4 separate regions of the Homo sapiens genome follow, and regions 1, 3 and 4 are each linked to region 2. Evidence: promoter capture Hi-C in human tissues and cell types (Jung and others, 2019). All regions are on one chromosome and are shown on one strand. The core of a region is centred on a gene start or on the middle of the fragment in contact, and the rest is flanking DNA. Distances in the headings are between cores, read along the strand shown.

Region 1 (4,442 bases), core at 1,507-4,006, 440 kb after region 2:
TGTTCACACCTTGGCTCCTGTATCCAGGCCATTGTGGCGAGTAAGGCCAGCCAGTTCACAGGCTATGCACAGCATGATGCCCAGGAGTTCATGGCTTTCCTGCTGGATGGGCTGCACGAGGACCTGAATCGCATTCAGAACAAGCCCTACACAGAGACCGTGGATTCAGATGGGCGGCCCGATGAGGTCAGGGTTAGGGACAGAGGGTGGGCATGTCTCATGAGCATCCCAGCCCCTGGTACTCTTTGGTTCTCACCACTCTGCCTCTCAGGTGGTAGCTGAGGAAGCATGGCAGCGGCACAAGATGAGGAATGACTCTTTCATCGTGGACCTATTTCAGGGGCAGTACAAGTCGAAGCTGGTGTGCCCTGTGTGTGCCAAGGTGTGATGGGCTCCCCTGGAAAGAGACCCCCTAGTTCAGCTCAGCTATTCTGGTCACATTAGGTTCAGAGGCATGTGCATCTTAAGGTGCTACAGGGCAAGGTTTGGGCAAAGAAGCTGGCAGGGAGGCCTTAGGATTCTATTTGGGCTGAAGAGCCCACTCAGGGTAGGCTTCCTGACTGAGGGAAAAGTGATGTTAGAGCTCAAAGGTGTTGTAGCAGGGTTGTGGGCACATGGGGTGCAAGTGTGAGGCCAATTCGTAAAGTGGCTAAGCTGAGTAGGGCTTTGAGTGCCAGAAAGAAGGATTGTTATTTCCTGGTGGTCCTCCTGCCCTGTCTAGTGTCCTGAAGCCTGAGAGTTTGCTGGTTGGCTGTGGGGGCCCTGAGAGCCATCAGAAGCCCCGGAATGGGCTCTCTGAGCATGAGCATCTTATCTCCCACTCTGTGTGCAGCTACCCAGTGCCACCTCTACATCCACAGGTCTCCATCACTTTTGACCCGTTTCTTTATCTGCCGGTGCCCTTGCCACAAAAGCAAAAGGTTCTCCCTGTCTTTTATTTTGCCCGAGAGCCCCACAGCAAGCCCATCAAGGTGAGGAGTAAGCCCCTACCCTCTGGGCTGTTCTAGAGAACGTGGCCCACCTCCCTCACTGACTGCCCTTTTTGCCACAGTTCCTGGTGAGCGTCAGCAAGGAGAACTCCACTGCGAGCGAAGTATTGGACTCCCTCTCTCAGAGTGTTCATGTGAAGCCTGAGAACCTGCGTTTGGCGGAGGTATCTTTGTCCTTCCTTGGGCTATCACATGTGTGGATGTGTGTGTGTACTCACCACAGACGTGTGTACAGTCATTGGCATCTACAGACATACACATGGGCTGGGCACAGTGGCTCATGCCTGTAGTCCCAGCACTTTGTGAGGCCGAGGTGGGCAGATCACTTGAGCCCAGGAGTTTGGGACCAGCCTGGGCAACTTGGTGAAACACTGTCTCTACAAGAAATAAAATTAGCTGGGCATGGTGGTACGTGTTATAGTCCCAGCTACTTGGGAGGCTGAGGCAAGAGGCTCACTTGAGCCCGGGATGTGGAGGTTGCAGTGAGCAGAGATTGCACCACAGCACTCCAGCCTGGGTGACAGAGTGAGACTCTGTCTCAAAAATAAATAAATAAATAGATAAAAAAATAAAAATAGGGCCAGGCGTGGTGGCTCATGCCTGTAATCCCAGCTCTTTGGGAGGCCAAGGCTGATGGATCACAAGGTCAGGAGATCCAGACCACCCTGGCTTACATGGTGAAACCCCACCTCTACTAAAAATACAGGAAAAGTTAGCCGGGCGTGGTGGCACATGTCTGTAGTCCCAGCTGCTCAGGAGGCTGAGGCAGGAGAATCGCTTGAACCTGGGAGGCAGAGGTTGCAGTGAGCCGAGATCGCGCCACTGCACTCCAGCCTGGGTGACAGAGTGAGACTCTGTCTCAAAAATAAAATAAAATAAAATAAAAATAGACATACACATGAGTATGCCTGTGACTGTACAAAAACAGGCGATGTGCTGTTATTTTTTCTGTGCAACAGAAGTGCCCTCAGTTCCTAGCCATTATCAGGGTTTATTCCCCTTTGTGGTGGTGGATCCCAACTGCATTTCCCTTTTTAGACAAGGAGCTTGAGCTGCAGGACTATCCCTATGTTCGCTCTGCCTCTCCCTCTATCCTGCTGCTCTCTCCTTTTATCCCAGTTGTGTGTGCTAGCTCTCCCCAGGGGTTCCTAGCCTTTAGCCTGACAGTGTTGGTTTTCTTAGGGGTAAGAGTGGGGAGGAGGCTCTTTGAATGTGGACCCTCCATGATAATATGTTACAGTCTTATAAGGCTATGCTAGTTATAGCAGGGCAGAGTCCCTCAGTGTGGAGAGCTGGTGTGGTTGATATCTGCCTCACACCTGGTCTTTCAGGCCCTCTGATGCACCAGGCTCCTTATGGCATTGGGCACTGAGACAGGTGCCAGCAGAGGCATAAGCCTATTTGGGCCTACAGACCTCACCACTGCCCACATAGACCCAAGGCAGGGCCAAGCCTTCTTAAACTCTGGGGCAGGGCTAGGGAAAGGGCTTATCCTCACGTGGGATCTGTGTGTTCTCTGTCCCCAGGTAATTAAGAATCGTTTTCATCGTGTGTTCCTACCCTCCCACTCACTGGACACTGTGTCCCCATCTGATACGCTCCTCTGCTTTGAGCTGCTATCCTCAGAGTTGGCTAAGGAGCGGGTAGTGGTGCTAGAGGTGCAACAGGTGAGTGGGGGCCAACCTGATGGCACAGCGCCCTGGTGGGTGGGGCACTTCTTCCTGGTCTTGCTGAGCCAGACGACCCACCCTAGCGCCCCCAGGTGCCCAGCGTCCCCATCTCCAAGTGTGCAGCCTGCCAGCGGAAGCAACAGTCGGAGGATGAAAAGCTGAAGCGCTGTACCCGGTGCTACCGTGTGGGCTACTGCAACCAGTGAGGACCCCCATGGTCTCCCCTACCCTTTCTTTCCACCTTCCATGTGCCACCCTGCTCCTTCCCTTCACACCAAGGCACATATGCTTAAGCTTTCTACTTGCCACCCTACTTTACCAGGCTCTGGGGGAGGCAGGGCTGGCGTACCCAGTTCCCAGGGACTATGACTAGCCCCCAGTATGGAGTCATAGGAGATGGGGCTAAGGGCCTATCCTTGTCTTCCTCTTCCCGTCAGGCTCTGCCAGAAAACCCACTGGCCTGACCACAAGGGCCTCTGCCGACCTGAGAACATTGGCTACCCCTTCCTGGTCAGTGTACCTGCCTCACGCCTCACTTATGCCCGCCTCGCTCAGTTGCTAGAGGGCTATGCCCGGTAAGTGCCCAGTGGTTGGACTAGAGTGGTGTAGGTGGGGGCAGAGGTGCTAGATGGGCTGGTCAGGAGTCTTACTTGCGTTGTTCTCTGTTGCCAGGTACTCTGTGAGTGTATTCCAGCCACCCTTTCAGCCAGGCCGCATGGCCTTGGAGTCTCAGAGCCCTGGCTGCACCACACTGCTCTCCACAGGTTCCCTGGAGGCTGGGGACAGCGAGAGAGACCCCATTCAGCCACCTGAGCTCCAGCTGGTGACCCCTATGGCTGAGGGGGACACAGGGCTTCCCCGGGTGTGGGCAGCCCCTGACCGGGGTCCTGTGCCCAGCACCAGTGGAATTTCTTCTGAGATGCTGGCCAGTGGGCCCATTGAGGTTGGCTCCTTGCCAGCTGGCGAGAGGGTGTCCCGACCCGAAGGTAAGATCCAGTGAAAGGCTCTAGAAGCTGGGGAGGAGGATAAGGGAGGATGGAGGGGGCTGTTGTTTAGGGCCTGGTGGGCCTGGTGAGGCCCTGATGGGCAGGGAAGCTTTGATTATCATGTTCTCACACAGCTGCTGTGCCTGGGTACCAGCATCCAAGTGAAGCTATGAATGCCCACACACCCCAGTTCTTCATCTATAAAATTGATTCATCCAACCGAGAGCAGCGGCTAGAGGACAAAGGTGTCTGAGGCTGTGGGTGGGAGCCATGGGGTGGGTTGAGCTGGCTGTTCTCCACAGCTGCATGACCTCTCTCCCTGCGAATCTCCAGGAGACACCCCACTGGAGCTGGGTGACGACTGTAGCCTGGCTCTCGTCTGGCGGAACAATGAGCGCTTGCAGGAGTTTGTGTTGGTAGCCTCCAAGGAGCTGGAATGTGCTGAGGATCCAGGCTCTGCCGGTGAGGCTGCCCGGGCCGGCCACTTCACCCTGGACCAGTGCCTCAACCTCTTCACACGGCCTGAGGTGCTGGCACCCGAGGAGGCCTGGTGAGAACAGAGCAGCAAGTAGATAAGGGGGCAGGATGGAGAAGAGAGAGACTTGCTGGTCCTGACCCAATCTCTGTCCCCACCAGGTACTGCCCACAGTGCAAACAGCACCGTGAGGCCTCCAAGCAGCTGTTGCTATGGCGCCTGCCAAATGTTCTCATCGTGCAGCTCAAGCGCTTCTCCTTTCGTAGTTTTATCTGGCGTGACAAGATCAATGACTTGGTGGAGTTCCCTGTTAGGTAAGCAG
Region 2 (5,084 bases), core at 2,148-4,647:
TGCAAGTTGGGCCGGGTGCAGTGGCTCCCGCCTGTAATCCCAGCACTTTGGGAGGCCGAGGCAGGTAGATCACAAGGTTAGGAGATCGAGACCACGGTGAAATCCCATCTCTACTAAAAGTACAAAAAATTAGCTGGGTGCGGTGGTGGGCGCCTGCAGTCCCAGCTACTCGGGAGGCTGAGGCAGGAGAATGGCGTGAACCCAGAAGGTGGAGCTTGCAGTGAGCGGAGATCGTGCCACTGCACTCCAGCCTGGGCGACAGAGCGAGACTCCAACTCAAAAAAAAAAAAAAAAAAAACTGACAGGTGCAAGTCCACAGAGCTGGTGTAAACTAGACAGGCTGCCACTGGTCTACATGGCTCCTTCGTGTAATTATTTTAAAAAGTACTTTCTGGGGTACTGATAAAGTTCTGTCTTGATCTGGTAGTGTGTCACGAGTGTATGTATAAATAAAATCCCATCAATATGTGTGTTCCACTGTACATTAGGCATATCTCCATAAATAAGTAAATGAATTAACGAGTGAATGATGCCCCTTCATCTAAGAGGATGCAGCCTACACCAGGGCACACAGCTTGGAGAGTGGAGCCTGGGTTAGAGTTCAGCTTTCTCCCAAACCAGCACTCCTTGGAAAAGGCACAGATTATATAATTGTACATGGCCACCCTGACACCAGAAGCAGAGAGCCCTTCCTTGAGGGACTCTCCAATGCCCAAAGCTCCACATCATCCCGACGGGCTAAGAGGCACCACTATGGGTGTGGCAGCACTGCTACTCATGGGATTCAAGTCAGGCTCTTCAGCAGCAAATGCTGGAGCCACCCCCTCACAGAGTCCAACTCAGCTCAGTATGAGGATGAAAAGACTAATTCAGCCTGGGATGACAAGGTAATATGGCAATAGCATTTAACTCCCCCAGAATCATCTCCCTTTTACCTGGCCTTCTACCCACCTCTATGAGGTTTCTGACTGCCCCGAAATTCAAAATCTTACTGAAAGCAAATATGTCTTTGTGCTAATGCTCTTTCCTGAATGCCCAGAAGCACATTCACAGGGCTTTTTCCCCATCAATGGGCCAATCTGTTCAGCAGCATCTTAGAACATGCTAAATTTGGCATCAGGTATCTGAGATGCTCTAGTGAGAGGAAGTAGAAGCCATTGCAATACTAAAGGAGAGATAAGCCATGGAGCTGCTGCTCAGCTGAGGTGCTATGATAAAATGAATATCAGCTGGAGGAGTAAATCCCACCTCCTAATGGTCTCTGGTTCTGAGCTTTGGGGACAAATAGCCAGCTCACCTCCTGAGTCTGATAGTCACAGGACCTCAGCACCACAGGCTCAGGTATGAGCCTTGCCCACAGCCAGGTAAGAGATTGTGTGACTACTAAATCCATCAGGAGTCCGTGGTTCGCCTCACCCACAGCAGTTCATGGGTCTGCCTGCAGCAGAATGTACAGATGAAGTACAAATGAAACACTAAAAAGGCATATGAGCAATAGACATCAGCCTCCTTCCGGTCCCTCTGAGCTGCCCAGGTCTTTCCAGAATTTCATATGATTGGCTCTGCAACATCTGATAAACTACAAGCAGAGCAGCCTGTTTGGTTATCAGAAGAGAAATGACAAATTCCCCATACAGGGAACTCTCAATAACAAGGTGTTTTTCCATTCAGCTACAGAAGCTTTCCCTTGGAAGGAGAACACTAAAGCCTGGGTGAGCCTCCCTCAAGCTAAAACCCAAACAGCAACTCAACATGCAGCAAAATGGACAGTGTTTGCAGTGCTAAGAGCTGTGTGCTATCCAACTGCATTACTATTATAGCTAGTATAAAATGGACAAATCCCACCTCTAAAAAGGATGCTCACAGGCTGACCTGTCTGCCGCAGGTTTCAAGCTACTAACAGCCTTTCATTACTGTTAGTTGTCTAAGAAATGACTTCTGAGGAAATAAACACACAAGAGGCACAGTCGGGCAGCCAAAGAATAAAAAATTATGCGTCCTCAGTTTATGTGCTTCCACACAGAAAAGCCAGGGCAACATATATCAGCAGACCCACATGGAGCTGGAAGCACCTCCCTCCCACCCCCTGGGGGTTTTGCTACTCCCCAAGCCTATTTGGTGCAAAGATAATGCCTTCCATTTTATCGTGTCATCTCTTAGTAGTTTTCCTGAGTTTTCAGTCTACTGACTTATTATATATTGGCATTCCCTTACAGCCTTCATTGCCACTTGACTGTTTTTGCAGGACCTGGGTTGGCATACATTTAAAACAAACTGGTTTCACAGTATTTAATCAGATATGTTCTGTTTAAAGCATTCTGTGTGGGTTTCAGCTTTTCCACTGGTTTGATCTAAATCATAAGGTAACGAGAACATATCTGGTGCTGGATGACTCAATAGCATTTTTGCTTCACCCCAAAATGTTTCCCTAAACCTTGGTGAAAGCACATGATCCTATTAGTATTGTTGGGCCTAAATAAGCACCTCTTGGTGTCCAGTGGGCAATTTTCCTTTCCCCCAAAGGTGATTACAGCCACTAAATGCCCAAGGAAAGCCCAAGACCAAGTTCATGGTTCAACTATTTTCATCTCTCTGTTCCTCGCAGTGACACTTATCTTCCCTGACAGCCACTCCCATTGTGCTGTTTTCTCGGCCCAGCACAATGGACACATGCAGACACCAGCAGACAGGGAGGACGTTTTCCATCCCATTGCTCTCCTGTGCGGAGGGACCAGGTTAAGGTTACATAAGCCCCTCCTGAGCAGTCAGGCCCGAGCGTTGGGGAGAAGCGAATTTGGGGTTCGTGACGGAGTCACGGTCTGCAGGCCCCGACTGACCCTGCGCTCGTCATCCTGCCACGCCAAGGCGGGGCAGCTGGAAAGGAAGGGCCGCTTCCCGCGACCACCCAGTTCACGCCAATCCGGCAGGGTTCAGAGTGCGGCCGGACGTCGAACCTCGCTGTCCACACTAGATCGCGGGATCCTGGGCCCGGGTCCCGGCCTCAGGCTGCAGCTCACCGCCCCCCGGGCGCCGAGACACGCGCTTACCTGCCCGGGCCAGGGCCGGGACCGGGGCCGGGGCCGGGGCCAGGGACCGGTGGTACCGCGGTCGACCGCGCTGCTCCCGCCGCGGGGAGCTGTCCGCCACCGGCCGGTGCTGAAGGCGGCTTTCCTGCGCCGGGGCCGGGGCCGGGGCCCGGGCCGGGGCCGGCGCCGCCGGGCGGCAGCGGCCCGTCGCCAGCGCCGCCCTCCAGGCTGACCTCGTTGCCCATGGCGGGCAGGCGGGCGGGCGGGGTCGGGGTCGCGCTGCGCCCGGGCCGGCGGCTCCCGGGCGGTGCTCACACTCTCGGCGCCGCCGCTGCCGCCGCCATCTCCCAGCTCGGCTCGCGCCGCCGCCTGCCGCTGCGCATGCGCGTCTCGCGCCCCCTTCCCTGCACACGCCCCCCTTCCCCTGTGCGCGCTCCCGCCAGCCTCGGGGTCGCTGGGAAACAGCCGCCGGCGCCCGCGCATGCGCTGTCCAGGGCCGACGCGGTTGTATCATGCTGAGAAGGAGCCGGGCGGGGGCCGGCGGGGCTGCGAGGGCCCTGTGAGGAGGGGCACCTGCCACTAGAAGCGGCCTCTGGGACGTCGCGCTGAGCCCTGCTTTGGAGTCAGAGGGGCTTTCCGCCTCGGTGAACTCGAGAGTAGCAACTCTCCTCCGGGTAACCGGAGTGCCACAGCGGGCAGGCGTCATAAGGACAGGCCTCGGAGAGGAGAGGGGCTACCCGAGAATGGCCTCAAAAGTATGCATAGGAGTTGGGAAGGCAGAGGAACAAGTGTATTCAGAGACGCAAGGTCGTAGAGGGAAGGAGAGGGAGGGTGCTGGGTGGTCGGGCCGGATTGTGAGGGTCTTTAAGGCCAGCTGGGGAGTGGAGCCTTTATCCAGATGGCGATGGGAACCATCTGGGATTCACACTGAGGAACTGGGAGTCTCAGGAAGCGCCCCGGGCACAGATGGAAGGTGTGACAGGGCTGTGTGAAGCCAGCTGGGAGGCCACCTCAGTCAGCCCTGGGAGAGTGACCTTGGGGATGGAAAAGAGGACTTGATGGTTCTCAGGCCTGGAGCTGTCTCGATGCGGGGCCGCAGGTTGCCTCTGCATTACCCTGAGAGCTTTCCAAATTACTTCCCCGCTCCCTCACATTTACAGCCGGTTTCTGCCCGCTACTCAGGATTGTCTGCCGTGGTGGCTTCTCACACAAGCCTGTACTTTCCTGTGGGAGAATATTTCCTAGGAGCCTATATTCCAGTTCATCTCTGACGTCATAAATCATGACTGTGTAGAAAGGCGTGAGTAACTTGAACCCATTTTACAAACCCATTCAATTCTCCTAATGTTGCGAAATATATCACATAGGGTGTTAGCAGTTCTAACTGAACCTAGAATAATCCAGGGATCCCAGTGAATGCTGATAGCCAGCCTGCTGGACAGACCGGTGGCTGTGTCAGTTCTTGTGAGGAGGGGCCAGGACCCTCCCTGGGCCTTCCCCTGTGCACTCCGAGCTGCTCCTCCCGACCTCTGGGATGGAGCAAGTAAGAGAAAGAGGAAATGCAGAGCCCCCACTTCCTGATATTTTCTCCTGACTTCATACCTCCCGTTTTCACGCTAAACTGCCTGGCCCCTCTGGGATGACCTAGGATGAAGAGAGCCTCTCTTCCTGCAGATGATGGTCCTTGCTGTGTTTCCTCCTGTGCTGCAGGATGTTTGATACAGCTTCGTGAGTGGTGACTACATGTGCACATTTAGGCTCCAAAAGAGTCTGCACCTCAGCCCCGATAGGACCCTTGGCAACTGACTTAGGCTCACTGAGCCTCCATTTCCTATTCTGCAAAGTTAGAATCTTAGTAGCTCCTCGAATATGGGGGATTGTAAGGGTAGAGTGGCTGATGTAGATATTTTATTTTTTATTCATTTTATTTTTTTTATTTTTATTTTTTGGAGACAGACTCTCGCTCTGTCACCCAGGCTGGAGTACAGTGGTGTGATCTCGGCTCACTGCAACCTCCACCTCCCGGATTCAAATGATTCTCCTGCCTCAGCCTCCCTA
Region 3 (4,718 bases), core at 2,057-4,556, 420 kb after region 2:
ACAAAGGTGTGGACACCACAAGTGTGGAGCTGGCTGTCAGTGCCCCTTCCCCAAGGTGGGGGCAGTAGGCATTGCTCTTCTGCTGGGTCAGATCCAGGGTGCTCTCCCTGTACCGGATGCCATGGGCCAGAAGCTGCCCAAAGCTGAAGGCATCCTCCATCAGGCAGAGTGAACCAGGTGAAGGGCCAGGAGGCTGGAGGTGGAAGTCAGAGGGTGGCCAGAAAAGGGATGCCTAACTGAACACCTGTGTTCTTCAAGGAGGGTACAACCTGGGCCCAGCACCAAGCACTGGATGTTCAGGGGGTGCTGGCTGAGGGGGGAATGGAACTCATGCAGGGGCCGCAGAGCAAGGGCTACAGGAAGTGAAGCTGGCACTTGAAGGCCTGGAGGGCACTGTACAGGAGGTGATACCCTACTTGTACCCTCAGCTCCTTTACATCCCTTGTTCAATGACTGCTGTGATTTCCATTCTCCCTGAGATCCTTGACTCACTATGATACCACAGTGCTACCAAGTACCTTGACCGTGATAACACTCAGCCTAGTTGCTACTGTGCTGTGTCCTCTCTGTGACCCCCTAACCTTTGCCCCAGGTAGTAGGGCGCCTGGCCCAGATGGCACTGGCAGTTGAGGTGACCCCAGTCCCAGGGCGTCTGTCCAGTGTAGCTAAGGTGCTCAGGGCATGTTTTGTCCTGAGTCAGCAGCAGGCCCAGGAGGCAGAAGAATGGGCAGCATGAGTCGTAGGCAGGGCTGAGGGCCTGGGCAAGATGAAATGGGGAAGAGTGGGCACTGGGGTCTCAGGGACCCCTCTGGAACAGTGGAAAGTGGGGTTTGGGCTGGGGCTGGGCTATACTGGACTGAGGCGGGATCTCAGTTCTAAATTCTCCTTTTCTCCAGGAACCTTAGGCAGTAATATATTTGAGGCAATATATTCTGGGTGGGGTGGGGATTCAGGTCCAGCCCTGCCCTAGGAGTTGTAGGTGGCCCCTTTGGCTGTGGCCGAGCTGCAGGAGGACACATATGGCCTGGTAGCCACTGTGCAGGATGCAAAAGAATGGGTGCAGCAGGCTTGAGCTGAGGCCCAGGAGCTCCTGAAGAAGGCATAAAGCAGCTTCAGCTGCCTGCATGGTGCATGGCTGGCCTGCAATAGGGCAGGCACAGGGAACGGCTTAGGGTCAGATGGAAAGGTCAGGGCCAGAATAGGGATGTTGTGGAAGGGTTAAGGCTGGGTCCAGATCAGATCTTGACTCATGTAGGGATCAGGGCTAGGGTCAAGGTTTAGACCAGGGATCAAGTGTTGATTAGGTTCAGGGTTTATTTAAGGTTAGGGCTGGGTCAGGGTCAGGGTTGTGATAGAGACTGGGACCAGGATCAGAGGTTAGAGCCAGGGGTCAGAGCCTGGCTCAGATGACCTGACCCCAGGGTTGGAGTGCCGCCTGACACAGAATGCACAGGCACTGGGCAAGAAGGCAGCCACCCTGCAGGCCCTGGAGCAGCAGGCAGCTGAGCTGCTTGGGCACATGATGTGCTTTGCCACCAATAAGTATGCCACCTGCTAATTACTGTCTATGGAAGCCATTAAGAAGGACTGTGGGATCACCTGGGTAACTCAAAGTGGCCCTAGAGTGATCCAGGAATCTCCTGGCCTTGGGAGACCAAAGATCCTACTGAGTGCCCACTGACCCTGAGTGACCCCCCCATGTGGCCCCACGATGTCCCCCAGTGGCCCTCTGACCTTGAGAAAGCAGACAGATCATGTAACTCCCTGAGGCCATCTAGTGTCCCAGACCTTGATACACCTTTATCTCTGAGTGATCTAAAACTGTGAGACTACAGTGCTGGCATTCTCCACTCAAAATAAATAGATGGGGCCTGGCACTATTTACTGGCTCATGCCTGTAATCCCAGCGCTTTCGGAGGCAGAGGCGGGAGGATCACCTGAGATCAGGAGTTCAAGACCAGCCAAGCCAACATGGTGAAACCCCATGTCTACTAAAAATAGAAACATTAGCTGGGCGTGGTGGTGGGCGCCTGTAATCCTAGCTACTTGGGAAGCTGAGGCAGGAGAATCGCTTGAACCTGGGAGGCAGAGGTTGCAGTAAGCGGAGATCTCGCCACTGCACTCCAGCCTGGGTGACAGAGCGACACTCTGTCTCAAAAAAAAAAAAAAAATTAAAATTCTCAGTAATTTCTAGTATCCCTGATCCCCCAGGTTGACTACATGATCCTCAGGGTGACTGGAGACCTCTACTCCGGATATCCAGAATAACTCCCAGCGATGCCTAAAGTCCAACGGATTGACTGACCCCCACCCAACCCTCACCCAACCCCCACCCCCGCCGCCCCCATGCTCCTTTGTGAAGTGGGGTGATTCCCCTGAGGAACTATCATCAGCTTTCTTCCCTGGATGGCAGCTCAGGGCACTCCCTGCCGGGACTGTGGAGGCGGCAGGCCAGACCCAGCCCTAAAGACCGGAGGACCCCATGTTTCCCCCAGCTTCCCGTTCCCAGGGCCCTGGGTGGGGCGCGCCCCATATCCCCCACCCACTTTCCTCCTTCTCTCCCCCTCCACGCCGCCGCGCACATTCCAACCCCAGGCTCCTGCGATCCCGGCAGGCCAAAAAGTCTGGAGCGGATAAATAGCCACAAGATCCGGAGTCGCTCGCCGTAGCTCTGGTCCACCACCCAGAGCCTATTTCCATACAGGGAAACCCGCAGCACTTCTCGTGCCTACTTACCGTAGTGACTAGTGGGGGAGGCAGTGACCCCCCTGGAGCTGTGCTTCGGGCTGGGTGTGCACTTTCCCCATCTCTCCCCCAGCCCCATTCTGTCCAGTCCCTAGGACTACCCGAGAGCCCCCCACAGCCCTGAATAGGGGCATGTGTTGCTCCTGCTTGTGCCCTCCAGCCTCTCTGTTGATGCTGGAGCCCTGGGATCAAACGGCTGAGTTGATGGTAATTTCCACGGCGCCCATGACGCTGAGGGGAAAAGGCTACGGTCTCCTTGGTCCAGAGTTGGAGATCCCGAAGATCTCTCATTTGCTCCTGCCATGCCCCCAACTTCGTGAGCCCTCTTCCAAGGATAGTTTAAAGCACCAAACCCCTTACCTTCCCCTGGCCCTCGTATAGGTGTGGGCTTGGGGGCACAATAAAGATTTGTGGGTGAAGTGGTCTGTCTCTGGTTCCTGGGGCGAAGGCAGTTTCCGGAGGGAAGGGGTAGGGTTGGGGTGGGGGCGCTCTCCGCCCGGTGTTGCGCTCCTTCCCAGAATCCGCTCCGGCCTTTCCTTCCTGCCGCGATTCCCAACTTTGCTCAAAGTCGCTGGACTCTAAGCTGTCGGAGGGACCGCTGGACAGACCTGGGAACTGACAGAGGGCCTGGAGGGAAACAGGCCAAAGACCCACAGGCAGAGTTGACACGGAACCCCAAAGCAAGGAGGAGGGCTCGGGCCCGAGACCGTTCACCTCCCCTTATCCCTGTTCCCCTCTTCAGGATGGAGCTGACCTCAAGGGAAAGAGGGAGGGGACAGCCTCTGCCCTGGGAACTTCGACTGGGCCTACTGCTAAGCGGTGAGAGGGCCTGGTGGGGGCTGGGGGTTGTGGAATGTGATGGTAGGTCCTGGTAGTTGCCCTTGGGGCACATGAGGTGGAGCCACTGGATAGGAACTCAGCGGAACTGACTGAGCTACTGTCCCCAGTGCTGGCTGCCACACTGGCACAGGCCCCTGCCCCGGATGTGCCTGGCTGTTCCAGGGGAAGCTGCTACCCCGCCACGGGCGACCTGCTGGTGGGCCGAGCTGACAGACTGACTGCCTCATCCACTTGTGGCCTGAATGGCCCCCAGCCCTACTGCATCGTCAGTCACCTGCAGGTGTGGCTGGGGACAGGGTGTGACGCCGAGTCAGGGTGGGGCTGGCACTGCCTGAGGCACTGATTCTAATCCCCATCCAACCCAGGACGAAAAGAAGTGCTTCCTTTGTGACTCCCGGCGCCCCTTCTCTGCTAGAGACAACCCACACAGCCATCGCATCCAGAATGTAGTCACCAGCTTTGCACCACAGCGGCGGGCAGCCTGGTGGCAGTCAGAGAATGGTGAGGCCATGGGTGGGGCAAAAGTGAGCAGGGCTGCCCACCAGTAGCTTTGAGTCCTTGACTTCCGATTCCTGTCCCAGGTATCCCTGCGGTCACCATCCAGCTGGACCTGGAGGCTGAGTTTCATTTCACACACCTCATTATGACCTTCAAGGTGCCTGCATATCTGGGAGCCTGCCCGAATCACCCTGCTTGGCTCTCCATTGCCCCTGGACAGAGCCTCAGCTCCTTAACACAGCCTCCTTGAGCATGGATGCAGGAGGCTCCTTCATCCCTTCACACCTTCCATTTGCCTCCAGGCCTTTGCACATGCTCTTCTGCCTTTCCAATCCCAGGCTGGGTCAGGCGCTGTCTCCCTGAGCCCCATGAACCCTGAGTCTCCCCATTAGAGGTGGCTACCTTTGCTGGTCATTATCTGGCTTCCACCAGTCACCCCCACTCTCTGTGAGCTATTTGAGGGCAGTCTTGGGCTGAGCAGGGCTCTTGATGGCTCTGGGTTGGGCTTGGGTCCTGGTGCCTGCTGATCAGCTATGCCCCCCTACCCAGACATTTCGCCCTGCTGCCATGCTGGTGGAACGCTCAGCAGACTTTGGCCGCACCTGGCATGTGTACCGATATTTCTCCTATGACTG
Region 4 (4,601 bases), core at 1,594-4,093, 470 kb after region 2:
GATCGTGGCTCACTGCAACCTTCGCCTCCCGGGTTCAAGTAATTCTCCTGCCTCAGCTTCCCTAGTAGCTGGGACTACAGGCACCACACCTGGCTAATTTTTGTATTTTTAGTAGAGACAGGGTTTCACCATATTAGCTAGGCTGGTCTCAAACTCCTTGTGATCTGCCTGCCTCAGCCTCCCAAACTGCTGGGATTATAGGCGTGAGCCACTGTGCCTGGCCTATTTTATTTTATTTTTTTGAGACAGAGTTTTGCTCTTGTTGCCCGGGCTGGAGTGCAGTGGCGCGATCTCGGCTCACTGCAACCTCCGGCTGCTGGGTGCAAGTGATTCTCCTGCCTCAGCCTCCCGAGTAGCTGAGGTTACAGGTGCCCACCACCACGCCTGGCTAATTTTTGTGTTTTTGGTAGAGATGGGATTTCACCACGTTGGCCAGACTGGTCTTGAACTCCCAACCTCAGGTGATCCGCCCACCTCAGCCTCCCAAAGTGCTGGGGATTACAGGCGTGAGCCACTGCACCGGGCCCCATATGAATGTATTCAAACTGGACTAAGCTATGAAGAGCCATTGTTGGAGTAGATGTGAACCTTGAGGGGCCTCAAAGCCCAAGGAAGAGGTAAGGTTCTGAGGCAGTTCAGACTTCTTTTAGTCCATCACGGATTGAAGACTCACTCTGCAGAGCCATACAGGGGGCCCAAAAGAGGTATCAGGGATAAGAAACCCAAGAAACAGTGATTGCAATAAGATCTTCCCTTGGTACCTAAACGGAAAAAAGAAAAAAATTAGCAAACAGACCTATAGAAATGTAATAGATTGTTGTTTTGGAGTAACCTTTGTCCATGGTACCATCTTATGTTCTAATAATAAAATAATAAAAATAATAACTCATGTAGTGAAGAATTGCTGTGCATCAGGCACTATGCTAAGCTCCAGTAGGAGGAAATACAGAGGAGCCAGGCGCAGTGGCTCACACCTGTAATCCCAGTTTTGGGAGGCTGAGGATCACGAGGTCAGGAGATCGAGACCATCCTGGCTAACACGGCGAAACCCCGTCTCTACTAAAAATACAAAAAAATTAGCCGGGCGTGGTGGTGGGTGCCTGTAGTCCCAGCTACTTGGGAGGCTGAGGCAGGAGAATGGTGTGAATCCAGGAGGTGGAGCTTACAGTGAGCCGAGATCGCACCATTGCACTCCAGCCTGGGCGACAGAGTGAGACTCCATCTCAAAAAAAAAAAAAGAAAAAGAAAAAGAGGGAGATACAGAGGAGATACCAGTGAACAATTTGATTTTATACCAGCAAAAATGTCCAGGGTCTGTTTAAGGGAGGGCTGGCTTTCCTTTATTGTTACTTATTTTTTTTTTTTTACAATGCAGCTATATTTAAAAGCGTTTAGAAGTAAATGCTTGTTTACAGACCTCATACACCCCAAGAGCATTAGAGTATTTTCTTTTTTCATTATTAGTCTCATCAGAGTCCCAGAAATTGGGAACACTCAGATATCCTCATGGCTGCATGTTTTTCAGAAATACTTTAATTAATTTCTTTATTGCTTCTTACTAAGTCTTTTACTTGGAGCTAATTAAGAATCTTTTGTCTCTTTTAGAAGTTTCTCCATTTCTCTTTATTACGAAGGCTCAACTTTTGTGTCTTATGTGCAGCATCTTGAAGTTAAGTCTTCATTATTTTGTACAAGTTTTTGGTATTTTATGGTTTAGTTTCTTTTTCTTTTTTTTTTTTTTGAGATGGAGTTTTGCCCTTGTTGCCCAGGCCGGAGTGCAGTGGCATGGTCTTGGCTCACTGCAACCTCCACCTCCCAGGTTCAAGCGATTCTCCTGTCTCAGCCTTCCGAGTAGCTGGGATTACAGGCACGTGTCACCACACCTGGCTAATTTTTTTTGTATTTTTAGTAGAGGCGGGGTTTCATCATGTTGGTCAGGCTGGTCTCAAACTACTGACCTCAGGTGATCCACCCACCTCGGCCTCCCAAAGTGCTGGGATTACAGGTATGAGCCACCTCGTTCGGCAGGTTTAGTTTCTTTCAGATTTTGAAAGAAAATCGTACTATGATCAACCAGAATTACGTGTCTGTTACCATTACTACACTATAACCACTTGTATTTTTAGTAGAGATGGGGTTTCACCGTGATAGCCAGGATGGTCTCGATCTCCTGACCTGGTGATCCGCCTGCCTCGGCCTCCCAAAATGCTGGGATTACAGGCATGAGCCACCTCTTTCGGCCGGTTTAGTTTCTTTCAGATTTTGAAAGAAAATCATACTATGATCAGCCAGAATTATGTGTCTTACCATTACTACACTATAGCCACTGTGTAGAAAAAGATGATTTTTTTTTTTTTGAGACGGAGTCTTGCTCTGTCGCCCAGGCTGGAGTGCAGTGGCACGATCTTGGCTCACTGCAAGCTCCACCTCCCAGATTCACACCATTCTCCTGCCTCAGCCTCCCGAGTAGCTGGGACTACAGGCGCCCAACACCACACCCGGCTAATTTTTTTGTATTTTTAGTAGAGACGGGGTTTCACCGTGATAGCCAGGATGGTCTCGATCTCCTGATCTGGTGATCTGCCTGCCTCGGAAAGTGCTGGGATTACAGGCGTGAGCCTTAGATTAATACCACTTGTGGAAAATTCAGAAGAGTGTTTAACAGAAGAAACTTAATTACTCTGTGGTTCCATCATCTAGGCATAACTACTGTTAGCATTCCTTTTTATCATTTTTTGAGGTGGAGTCTCACTCTTTCCCCAGGCTGAAGTGCAGTGGCGCAGTCTCAGCTCACTACAACCTCCGCCTCCCGGATTCAAGCAATTCTCCTGCCTCAGCCTCTAGAGTAGCTGGGATTACGGGTGGCTGCCACCATGCCCTGTTAGTTTTTGTATTTTTAGTGGAGATGGGGTTTCACCATGTTGGCCAGGCTGGTCTCACAATCTTGGCTGGATGTGATGGCTCACGCCTGTAATCCTAGCACTTTGGGAGACCGATGCTGTGGATCGCTTGAGGTCAGGAGTTTGAGTACATCCTGACCAACATGGCGAAATCCCGTCTCTACTAAAATACAAAAATTAGCTGGGCATGGTGGCGGGTGCCCGTAATCCCAGCCACTTTGGAGGCTGAGGCAGGAGAATTGCTTGAACCTAGGAGGCGGAGGTTTCAGTGAGCCAGGATCGTGCCACTACGCTCCAGCCTGGGCGACAGAGCAACACTGTGTCTCAATAAAAATAAAAATAAAAAAGAATTTAGGCTGGGTGTGGTTGCTCATGCCTGTAATCCCAGCACTTTGGAAGGTGGAAGCGAGTGGATTACCTGAGGTTAAGAGTTCGAGACCAGCCTGGCCAACATGGCAAAACCTCATCTCTACTAAAAATATAAAAATTAGCCGGATGTGGGCCGGGTGCGGTGGCTCATACCTGTAATCCCAGCACTTTGGGAGGCTGAGGCGGGTGGATCATGAGTTTAGGAGTTCAAGACCAGCTTGGCCAAGATGGTGAAACCCTGCCTCTACTAAAAATACAAAAATTAGCCAGGCACGGTGGCAGGTGCCTGTAATCCTAGCTACTCGGGAGGCTGAGGCAGGAGAATCGCTTGAACCTGGGGGGCACGGAGGTTGCAGTGAGCCAAGATTGTGCCTCCTGGGTTCAAGCGATTCTCCTGCCTCAGCCTCCCAAGTAGCTGGGACTACAGGTATGCAGCACCACACCTGGCTAATTTTTTTTTTTTGAGATGGAGTCTCACTCTGTCACCCAAGCTGGAGTGCAGTGGCATGATCATAGCTCATTGCAGGCTCAAACTGCTGGGATCAAGCCATCCTATCCTCCTGCCTCGGCCTCCCAAGTAGCTGGGACTACAGGCGAGAACCACCATGCCAAGCTTAGTATTGATATTTTCTAATGGTTTTATGGAATTTTTCCTACCTCAAGCTTGTTTGTCTTTTAAATTATTACTATTATTTCTAAGAGATGGGATCTCACTGTGGTGCCCAGGTTGGAGTGCTGTGGCTATCCACAGACAGGATTCTACTACTGCAGTATGGAAGTTTTGACCTGCCCCATTTCCAACCTGGGGTGGTTCACCCCTCTTTAGGCAACCTGGTGATTCCCTGCTCCCTTGAAGTCACCATATTGATGCTGAACTTAGTGTGGACACCCGATTGGCATAGAGCACTATAGCCCAGAACTCCTGGACTACTCAAGCAATCCTCCTGTTTCAGTCTCTTGAGTAGCTGGGACTGCAGGCATGCACCATCATCCCAGGCTCCCCCCCCCCCTTTTTTTTTTTTTTTTGAGACAGAGTCTCACTTTGTCGCCAGGCTGGAGTGCAATGGTGCGATCTTGGCTCACTGCAACCTCCGCCTCCCAGGTTCAAGCGATCCTCCTGCCTCAGCCTCCCAAGTAGCTGGGATTACAGGCATGCTCTACCATGCCCAACTCATTTTGTATTTTTAGTAGAGACGGGGGTTCTCCATGTTAGTCAGGCTGGTCTCGAACTCCCGACCTCAGGTTATCCACCTTCCTTGGCCCCCCAAAGTCCATAGTGCTAGGATTACAGGCGTGAGTCACCACACCTGGCCTTTTTTTCTTTTTTTTTTT

The links. Contacts are between HindIII fragments. The study calls those that stand out against the background at their distance.
Region 1: a fragment that was not itself captured here is called in contact with the fragment with the promoter of BSN in region 2 in 3 of the 25 tissues and cell types used here (dorsolateral prefrontal cortex, lymphoblastoid cells and spleen).
Region 3: a contact is called between the fragment with the promoter of LAMB2 here and the fragment with the promoter of BSN in region 2, in 1 of the 25 tissues and cell types used here (mesenchymal stem cells).
Region 4: a contact is called between a fragment that was not itself captured here and the fragment with the promoter of BSN in region 2, in 1 of the 25 tissues and cell types used here (dorsolateral prefrontal cortex).

Annotation. Positions count from the first base shown.
Region 1 is chr3:49,110,703-49,115,144 of GRCh38, reverse strand. USP19 (ubiquitin specific peptidase 19) reads left to right here. Exons shown (of 27, transcript NM_001199161.2): 14 at 28-186; 15 at 272-382; 16 at 861-971; 17 at 1,052-1,153; 18 at 2,516-2,656; 19 at 2,743-2,861; 20 at 3,097-3,234; 21 at 3,332-3,645; 22 at 3,780-3,890; 23 at 3,979-4,195; 24 at 4,282-4,434. Among named protein-coding and RNA genes, the nearest start is that of USP19, 7.9 kb to the left of the region's middle. The HindIII fragment of the contact is 5,151 bases long and covers 181-4,442 here.
Region 2 is chr3:49,552,790-49,557,873 of GRCh38, reverse strand. It overlaps BSN (bassoon presynaptic cytomatrix protein), which reads right to left and starts at 3,397. Exons shown (of 12, transcript NM_003458.4): 1 at 3,048-3,397. The coding sequence starts at 3,271. It overlaps BSN-DT (BSN divergent transcript), which reads left to right and starts at 3,508. Exons shown (of 3, transcript NR_038866.1): 1 at 3,508-3,833; 2 at 4,187-4,326. RefSeq lists silencers at 3,010-3,219, 3,290-3,589. The HindIII fragment of the contact is 7,009 bases long and covers 699-5,084 here.
Region 3 is chr3:49,131,638-49,136,355 of GRCh38, reverse strand. LAMB2 (laminin subunit beta 2) reads left to right here and starts at 3,306. Exons shown (of 32, transcript NM_002292.4): 1 at 3,306-3,564; 2 at 3,693-3,865; 3 at 3,951-4,086; 4 at 4,167-4,240; 5 at 4,633-4,718. The coding sequence starts at 3,489. LOC124909377 (a long non-coding RNA gene) reads right to left here and starts at 3,488. Exons shown (of 2, transcript XR_007095905.1): 1 at 2,737-3,488. RefSeq lists a silencer at 1-120, a cis regulatory region at 1,653-1,866 and enhancers at 2,400-3,215, 4,033-4,718. The HindIII fragment of the contact is 11,964 bases long and covers 3,068-4,718 here.
Region 4 is chr3:49,082,899-49,087,499 of GRCh38, reverse strand. All of the region lies in intron 1 of QRICH1 (glutamine rich 1), which reads left to right. It also overlaps the pseudogene RN7SL182P. Among named protein-coding and RNA genes, the nearest start is that of QRICH1, 8.9 kb to the left of the region's middle. The HindIII fragment of the contact is 6,032 bases long and covers 1-4,601 here.